Regions from separate parts of the Homo sapiens genome. Here region 2 is linked to region 1. The links are contacts of gene promoters, found by promoter capture Hi-C in human tissues and cell types (Jung and others, 2019). All regions are on one chromosome and are shown on one strand. The core of a region is centred on a gene start or on the middle of the fragment in contact, and the rest is flanking DNA. Distances in the headings are between cores, read along the strand shown.

Region 1 (4,120 bases), core at 665-3,164:
AGAGAGTCTCCATCTGCAGCCCATGCAGCAGCCAGGGCCTCCCTGCAGCCCCCGGGCCAGGCTTGGCCTCTGCGGGAAGCCCCCAGCCTCACTGGAGGCAAGAACCTGAGTCCCTGGCTCAGATCTCCGGGTAGGACTGGCCTGACTGAGACCCTGGGCAAAACCAGGAGCTGACACCTCCTAGGGGCCTCAGCGGATCCCTGGGACTCAGGAACCAGAGGGAACGTCCTGCTGGCTGGGAGAGGGGCAGGATCAGAAGCCCAGGGACCTTTGCCCCAACCCAGCAGGCCAAGGCCAGGCTGTGCATGTGACTTGTCCTTGAGCAGCTGCTGCTGGGGAAGGAGGCCCTGAGGGAAGGCACCGCAGCCTTGTGCTCCTGAAACCCGAAGCTCCCACACACCCGCTGCGCCCTCATTGAGTTCCCGTTGGTACCATGCTCTGTGCTAAGCATTTTATCTGTACTTTCCCCAAAGAAACTTAATACTTTTATTGGAAAACCAGAACGCCTAACCACACATTTTGCCTAATCTTTCATGTAATTAACCTTCCACTAGTGCAAGTGTTGAAAGTAGAATACGCTATTCCCAAGTTTCAAGTTGAGGGAGGCGGGATTCCCAGGTTCTGGTTGTACATTCCCATTTTCACTGATCTGTTCAGTGGTCAATGGATTCTTGGGTTGCTTTCATGTCAGCTACTGTGAATAATCCTGCTATGAACATGGGTATACAAATATCTCTTGAAGGCTGGGTGGGGTGGCTCACACCTTCACCCTGGCACTTTGGGAGGCCGCAGAGGGCAGATCACCTGAGGTCAGAAGTTCAAGACCAGCCTGGCCAACATGGCGAAACCCCATCTCTACTAAAAATACAAAAATTAGCTAAGCATGGTGGCAGGTGCCTCTAATCCCAGCTACTCTGGAGGCTGAGACAGGAGAATCACTTGAACCCAGGAGGCAGATGTTGCAGTGAGCCAAGATCGCACCACTGCACTCCAGCCTGAGCGATGGAGCAAGACTCCATCTCAAAAACAAACAAAACTAAATCCCCCCAAAAAACCAAAAACAAATATCTCTTGAAGACCTTCCTTTCAGTTCTTTTGGGTGTATGCTCAGAAGTGGAATTGCAGCTGGGCGCGGTGGCTCATGCCTGTAATCCCAGCACTTTGAGAGGCCGAGGTGGGCGGATTACCTGAGGTCAGGAGTTGGAGACCAGCCTGGTTAACATGGCGAAACCCCGTCTGTACTAAAAATACAAAAATGAGCCAGGTGTGCTGGCGCGCGCCTGTAACCCCAGCTACTTGGGAGGCTGAGGCAGGAGAATCGCTTGAACCCAGGAGGTGGAGGTTGCAGTGAGCTGGGATCACGCCAATGCACTCCAGCCTGGGCGACAAGAGCGAAACTCCATCTCAAAAAAAAAAAAAATTGTTCCAGAGAAGTGAAGAGAGCCCAGCGGGAGCCCGCAGTGGGGACAGCCTGGGCAGAGACTTGGGGAGATCCCCATTCTGGGTGGAACGGGCCGAGGACCACTGTTTTCCCAAGAAGGTCCCATGAAGGAGCAGCCATGCCTCTAGGCCCCACCCGGCCTTCAGGGGGTCCCCAGGCTTTAAGGGGACTCCTGGCTCAGGGCCAGGCCCTTGGTGCTGGAGGAGGTTGTAGGTGGAGGACGGGGTCACCAAGAGGGCAGCCGGGACCCCTGGGCTGCAGACAAGAAAGGGACTGTGGGGTCCACCGGGTCTGGGCCACATCAAGAAGTGTGGTTGAAGACCCGCCCCTAGGGGCTGAAAGCCAGGGCGCTGCCAGGCATGAGAGGCCCCAAACAGCCCTTGGGCCCAGGAGGGTGAAGCTGGGAGTAGAGGGCAGAGCTCCCACCCCGCCCCGCCCCCAGGGGGCGCCCCGGGCCCGGCGCGAGAGGAGGCAGAGGGGGCGTCAGGCCGCGGGAGAGGAGGCCATGGGCGCGCGCGGGGCGCTGCTGCTGGCGCTGCTGCTGGCTCGGGCTGGACTCAGGAAGCCGGGTGAGCTCGGGGCGCTGCTGGCGGGATGGGGAGGCGGGGGAGCGGTGGGGAGGACGGGAGGTGGAGGCCGCGGGGAGTCACTTCTTGTCTCCCGCAGAGTCGCAGGAGGCGGCGCCGTTATCAGGTAGGGCGCCCAGGACGCGCGATTCCTGCCAGGGCCGTTGGGCCGAGGTGGACGGGGGGCGGTGAGGGGGTAGAGGGGGGCCTTTACTGCTCTCTCGCCCCCGCCCCCGGGATCGAGAACTCTGTTGGCGTGGAAAGTAACTAACGGACGCTGGAGGGGGATGGGCGGGCCCTGCAGAGCACGTGGGAGGATCTCCAGTGTCACCTACTTCCTGCTGCACACACGCGAGGGGACCCTGGGTGGGCAAAAACGTGCTTTCCCGGACGGGGTTGAAGGGGAGAAAGGGAGAGGTCGGGCTTGGGGGGCTGCCTCCCGCGGCTCAGCAGTTCCTCTGACCATCCGAGGACCATGCGGCCGACGGGTCATCACGTCGCGCATCGTGGGTGGAGAGGACGCCGAACTCGGGCGTTGGCCGTGGCAGGGGAGCCTGCGCCTGTGGGATTCCCACGTATGCGGAGTGAGCCTGCTCAGCCACCGCTGGGCACTCACGGCGGCGCACTGCTTTGAAACGTGAGTGGGGGTGCGAACGGAGGGGTGCGGGGACGGGCAGGAACAGGGCTGGAGGGAGTGCCACCGAACTTTACCTCTGGTCTGATGCCAGACTTGGGCGTGAAAGTTGTGCGTGGATGCGGCCTGGTGTTCTCCTGAGCCCCAGGCTGTGCTGCAGCCGGTTACACCCACTCCAGTTCCCTTTGGGTCTCCTGGAGGGAACCCTGTTCAGGTTATTCCAGAATGTTCTTCCAGAACATTTCCACACACTTTTGGGTATTCTCTCCCTTTTTCTTTCAACCCAAAGTTCACCACTGACCATCCCACCCTCATCCCCCCTCCTGGTGGACGGTGCGGTACAGTGTGGGGCACTGAGCCAAGGCCAGCACCCCCGGGCCGCTGTGTGGACTCCATCCTGCCAATCCCACATTGGCGTGGTGCATCTCCCCATTCCTCCTTGGGCTGCATGGGGGTGCCCCTGGAGGCCTTGGCTCAATGCAAGGCTCCTTGGGACAGCTCTGGGAGGTGACAAGACCCCACCCTTCTGCTGCAGGAGCAGGTCCTAGGACTTTGGTTGTGGTCTGTCTGGGCTCCTTCATTTCTGCAGGGGACCCTGGGTGTTAGCAAGTAGCAGCAACACCACAGTTTCCCCTCCTGCACTGGACCCCAGTTGTGCTCAGGTAGCCAGCCCTCCATCCAGGGCCCCTGACTGCTCTCTTCTCTTCTGCCAGCTATAGTGACCTTAGTGATCCCTCCGGGTGGATGGTCCAGTTTGGCCAGCTGACTTCCATGCCATCCTTCTGGAGCCTGCAGGCCTACTACACCCGTTACTTCGTATCGAATATCTATCTGAGCCCTCGCTACCTGGGGAATTCACCCTATGACATTGCCTTGGTGAAGCTGTCTGCACCTGTCACCTACACTAAACACATCCAGCCCATCTGTCTCCAGGCCTCCACATTTGAGTTTGAGAACCGGACAGACTGCTGGGTGACTGGCTGGGGGTACATCAAAGAGGATGAGGGTGAGGCTGGGGACAGGCGGGTCAGGGAGGAACTGTCTTTGTTCACCTGTTCCCCTGCATAGGCACAATAGCCCCCTGCTTGGTCTGGGGGTGCAGGCTATGCCCCTCTTGCTTGCAGTCTCTCCTCACCTGCCAGGGCAGGGACCAAACACCCAGTTCTCTCCCTTCCAGGGGCTGTGGGGGCCAGAAGGAGAGTGTGAGAGGGAGGCCAGTTTGGCGCAGGCCTGTGGGTGGTGCGGTGGTGGAGGGGTTCTGGAGGGCTTGGCGACATAAACCTCATACTTGGATTTATTCCTGCATCTTTCCACCTCCCCCAGTGCTCACCAATGCCCCAGGCATCAGGCTCCTGGGCTGCCTCTCCATGCCTCCCACACCCACCCTAGCTCTGGCCGATTCTCCTGCAGCACTGAGCCCATTCCTCTCCCCAGAAACTTCCAAGCCATGCTCAACCGCAGCTCCCACGGAAACCCCTC
Region 2 (4,047 bases), core at 734-3,233, 51 kb before region 1:
ACCTAAGGGAGGTCGGTCCAGGTCTTCATCTCCAGTCACTGAGCTGGCATCCAGATCTCCAATAAGACAAGATAGAGGTGAGTTCTCAGCGAGTCCTATGTTGAAATCTGGAATGTCTCCTGAGCAGAGCAGGTTCCAGTCTGACTCTTCTTCATATCCTACAGTGGACTCGAATTCTCTCTTGGGGCAGAGTAGATTGGAGACTGCTGAATCAAAAGAGAAAATGGCCTTACCCCCTCAGGAGGATGCTACTGCATCACCTCCTAGACAGAAAGACAAATTTAGTCCCTTTCCAGTACAGGATAGGCCTGAGTCTTCACTGGTATTCAAAGACACACTTAGAACCCCGCCAAGGGAAAGAAGTGGTGCTGGGTCATCTCCAGAAACAAAAGAGCAAAATAGTGCATTGCCTACGTCAAGCCAAGATGAAGAGTTAATGGAGGTGGTAGAGAAGTCTGAAGAACCCGCAGGCCAAATCCTGTCTCATTTGTCTTCAGAACTTAAAGAAATGTCCACAAGTAACTTTGAATCATCTCCTGAAGTAGAAGAAAGGCCTGCTGTGTCTTTGACTCTTGATCAGAGCCAGTCACAGGCTTCTTTGGAAGCAGTAGAAGTCCCTTCAATGGCCTCATCTTGGGGTGGGCCACATTTTTCTCCAGAACATAAAGAACTGTCTAACTCCCCACTCAGGGAGAACAGCTTTGGATCACCTTTAGAATTTAGAAACTCAGGCCCACTTGGTACAGAAATGAATACTGGATTTTCTTCTGAGGTTAAAGAAGATTTGAATGGACCGTTTCTTAATCAGCTGGAAACAGATCCATCTCTAGACATGAAAGAACAATCGACAAGATCCTCTGGACACAGCAGTTCTGAGTTATCCCCAGATGCAGTGGAAAAGGCAGGGATGTCTTCAAATCAGAGCATCTCTTCACCTGTGCTTGATGCTGTACCCAGAACACCCTCGAGAGAAAGAAGTAGTTCTGCATCTTCTCCTGAAATGAAAGATGGTTTACCCAGAACTCCATCAAGGAGAAGCAGGTCTGGGTCTTCTCCAGGACTTAGAGATGGGTCTGGGACTCCCTCGAGGCACAGCCTGTCTGGGTCCTCTCCTGGAATGAAAGATATACCTAGAACGCCATCTAGAGGGAGAAGCGAATGTGATTCTTCCCCAGAACCGAAAGCTTTGCCTCAGACTCCTAGGCCGAGGAGTCGTTCTCCATCATCCCCAGAGCTCAACAACAAGTGTCTTACCCCCCAGAGAGAAAGAAGCGGGTCAGAATCATCAGTTGATCAGAAAACTGTGGCTCGGACTCCCCTGGGGCAGAGAAGTCGTTCGGGATCCTCTCAAGAACTTGATGTGAAACCCAGTGCATCCCCTCAGGAAAGAAGTGAGTCAGACTCTTCTCCAGATTCTAAAGCCAAGACAAGAACCCCACTTCGGCAGAGGAGTCGGTCTGGATCATCTCCAGAGGTTGACAGCAAATCTCGACTATCCCCTCGGCGCAGTAGGTCTGGTTCCTCCCCTGAAGTGAAAGATAAGCCAAGAGCAGCACCCAGGGCACAGAGTGGTTCTGATTCCTCTCCTGAACCTAAAGCTCCAGCCCCTCGGGCCCTTCCCAGACGAAGCAGATCAGGTTCATCAAGCAAAGGCAGAGGCCCTTCTCCTGAAGGAAGCAGCAGTACCGAGTCCTCTCCTGAACATCCGCCCAAATCCAGAACTGCTCGCAGAGGTTCCAGGTCATCACCAGAGCCCAAGACCAAGTCTCGTACACCACCTCGACGTCGCAGCTCTCGATCATCTCCGGAGCTAACAAGGAAGGCCAGACTGTCCCGTAGAAGCCGCTCTGCCTCATCCTCACCAGAAACTCGCTCTAGAACTCCCCCAAGGCACCGGAGAAGTCCCTCAGTGTCTTCCCCGGAGCCAGCCGAAAAATCGAGGTCTTCACGCCGACGGCGCTCAGCTTCATCTCCACGCACTAAGACAACCTCAAGGAGAGGCCGCTCTCCTTCGCCAAAGCCTCGTGGACTCCAGAGGTCCCGTTCCCGCTCAAGGAGAGAGAAAACAAGAACAACCCGACGTCGAGATAGGTCTGGATCTTCTCAGTCAACCTCTCGGCGAAGACAGCGGAGCCGGTCAAGGTCGCGGGTTACTCGGCGGCGGAGGGGAGGCTCTGGTTATCACTCAAGGTCACCTGCCCGGCAGGAAAGTTCCCGGACCTCCTCTCGACGCCGAAGAGGCCGCTCTCGGACACCCCCAACCAGTCGGAAGCGTTCTCGCTCACGCACATCACCAGCCCCGTGGAAACGCTCTAGATCTCGAGCCTCTCCAGCCACTCACCGGCGATCCAGGTCCAGAACCCCCCTGATAAGCCGACGTAGGTCCAGATCTCGAACTTCACCAGTCAGCCGGAGACGGTCAAGGTCCAGGACTTCAGTGACTCGACGAAGATCCCGGTCAAGAGCATCCCCAGTGAGCAGAAGGCGATCCAGATCCAGAACGCCACCAGTAACCCGCCGTCGTTCAAGGTCTAGAACGCCAACAACACGCCGCCGCTCCCGTTCTAGAACTCCACCAGTGACTCGCAGAAGGTCCAGATCCAGGACTCCACCAGTAACCAGGAGGCGATCTCGAAGCAGAACTTCGCCTATCACTCGCAGAAGATCAAGATCCAGAACATCTCCGGTCACCCGAAGGAGATCTCGATCTCGCACATCTCCAGTAACTCGAAGAAGGTCCCGCTCTCGAACCTCACCAGTGACACGCCGCCGCTCTAGGTCCCGGACACCTCCAGCTATTCGGCGCCGCTCTAGATCTCGAACGCCACTGTTACCACGCAAACGTTCTCGAAGTCGCTCACCACTTGCTATCCGCCGCCGCTCCAGATCCCGTACTCCACGAACAGCTCGGGGTAAACGGTCCTTAACAAGATCTCCTCCAGCCATCCGCAGGCGTTCTGCATCTGGAAGTAGTTCTGATCGTTCACGATCTGCTACTCCTCCAGCAACAAGAAATCATTCTGGTTCACGGACACCTCCAGTAGCACTCAACAGTTCCAGAATGAGCTGCTTCAGTCGTCCTAGCATGTCCCCAACACCTCTTGATCGCTGCAGATCACCTGGAATGCTTGAACCCCTTGGCAGCTCTAGAACACCCATGTCTGTCCTGCAGCAAGCCGGCGGCTCCATGATGGATGGTCCAGGTCCCCGAATACCTGACCACCAGAGAACATCTGTGCCAGAAAATCATGCTCAGTCCAGGATTGCACTTGCCCTGACAGCTATCAGTCTTGGCACCGCTCGGCCTCCTCCGTCCATGTCTGCTGCTGGCCTTGCTGCAAGAATGTCCCAGGTTCCAGCCCCGGTGCCTCTCATGAGTCTCAGAACCGCACCAGCAGCCAACCTTGCCAGCAGGATTCCTGCAGCCTCTGCGGCAGCCATGAACCTAGCCAGCGCCAGGACACCTGCCATTCCAACAGCAGTGAACCTGGCTGACTCTCGAACGCCAGCTGCAGCAGCGGCCATGAACTTGGCCAGCCCCAGAACAGCGGTGGCACCTTCGGCTGTGAACCTGGCTGACCCTCGCACTCCCACAGCCCCAGCTGTGAACCTAGCAGGGGCCAGAACCCCAGCTGCCTTGGCAGCTCTGAGTCTCACAGGCTCTGGCACACCACCAACTGCTGCAAACTATCCCTCCAGCTCCAGAACACCACAGGCTCCAGCCTCTGCAAACCTGGTGGGTCCTCGGTCTGCACATGCCACAGCTCCTGTGAATATTGCCGGCTCCAGAACCGCCGCAGCCTTGGCCCCCGCGAGCCTCACCAGTGCTAGGATGGCTCCAGCATTGTCTGGTGCAAACCTCACCAGCCCCAGGGTGCCCCTTTCTGCCTACGAGCGTGTCAGTGGCAGAACCTCACCACCGCTCCTTGACCGAGCTAGGTCCAGAACACCACCGTCTGCCCCAAGCCAATCTAGGATGACCTCTGAACGGGCTCCCTCCCCTTCCTCTAGAATGGGCCAGGCTCCTTCACAGTCTCTTCTCCCTCC

What was found. Contacts are between HindIII fragments. The study calls those that stand out against the background at their distance.
Region 2: a contact is called between a fragment that was not itself captured here and the fragment with the promoter of PRSS21 in region 1, in 3 of the 25 tissues and cell types used here (IMR-90 fibroblasts, mesendoderm cells and thymus).

Annotation. Positions count from the first base shown.
Region 1 is chr16:2,815,323-2,819,442 of GRCh38, forward strand. PRSS21 (serine protease 21) reads left to right here and starts at 1,915. Exons shown (of 6, transcript NM_006799.4): 1 at 1,915-2,010; 2 at 2,108-2,134; 3 at 2,479-2,644; 4 at 3,355-3,647. The coding sequence starts at 1,947. RefSeq lists an enhancer at 1-117 and silencers at 1,783-2,062, 2,173-2,232. The HindIII fragment of the contact is 10,567 bases long and covers 267-4,120 here.
Region 2 is chr16:2,763,807-2,767,853 of GRCh38, forward strand. SRRM2 (serine/arginine repetitive matrix 2) reads left to right here. Exons shown (of 15, transcript NM_016333.4): 11 at 1-4,047. Among named protein-coding and RNA genes, the nearest start is that of ELOB, 11 kb to the right of the region's middle. The HindIII fragment of the contact is 3,944 bases long and covers 12-3,955 here.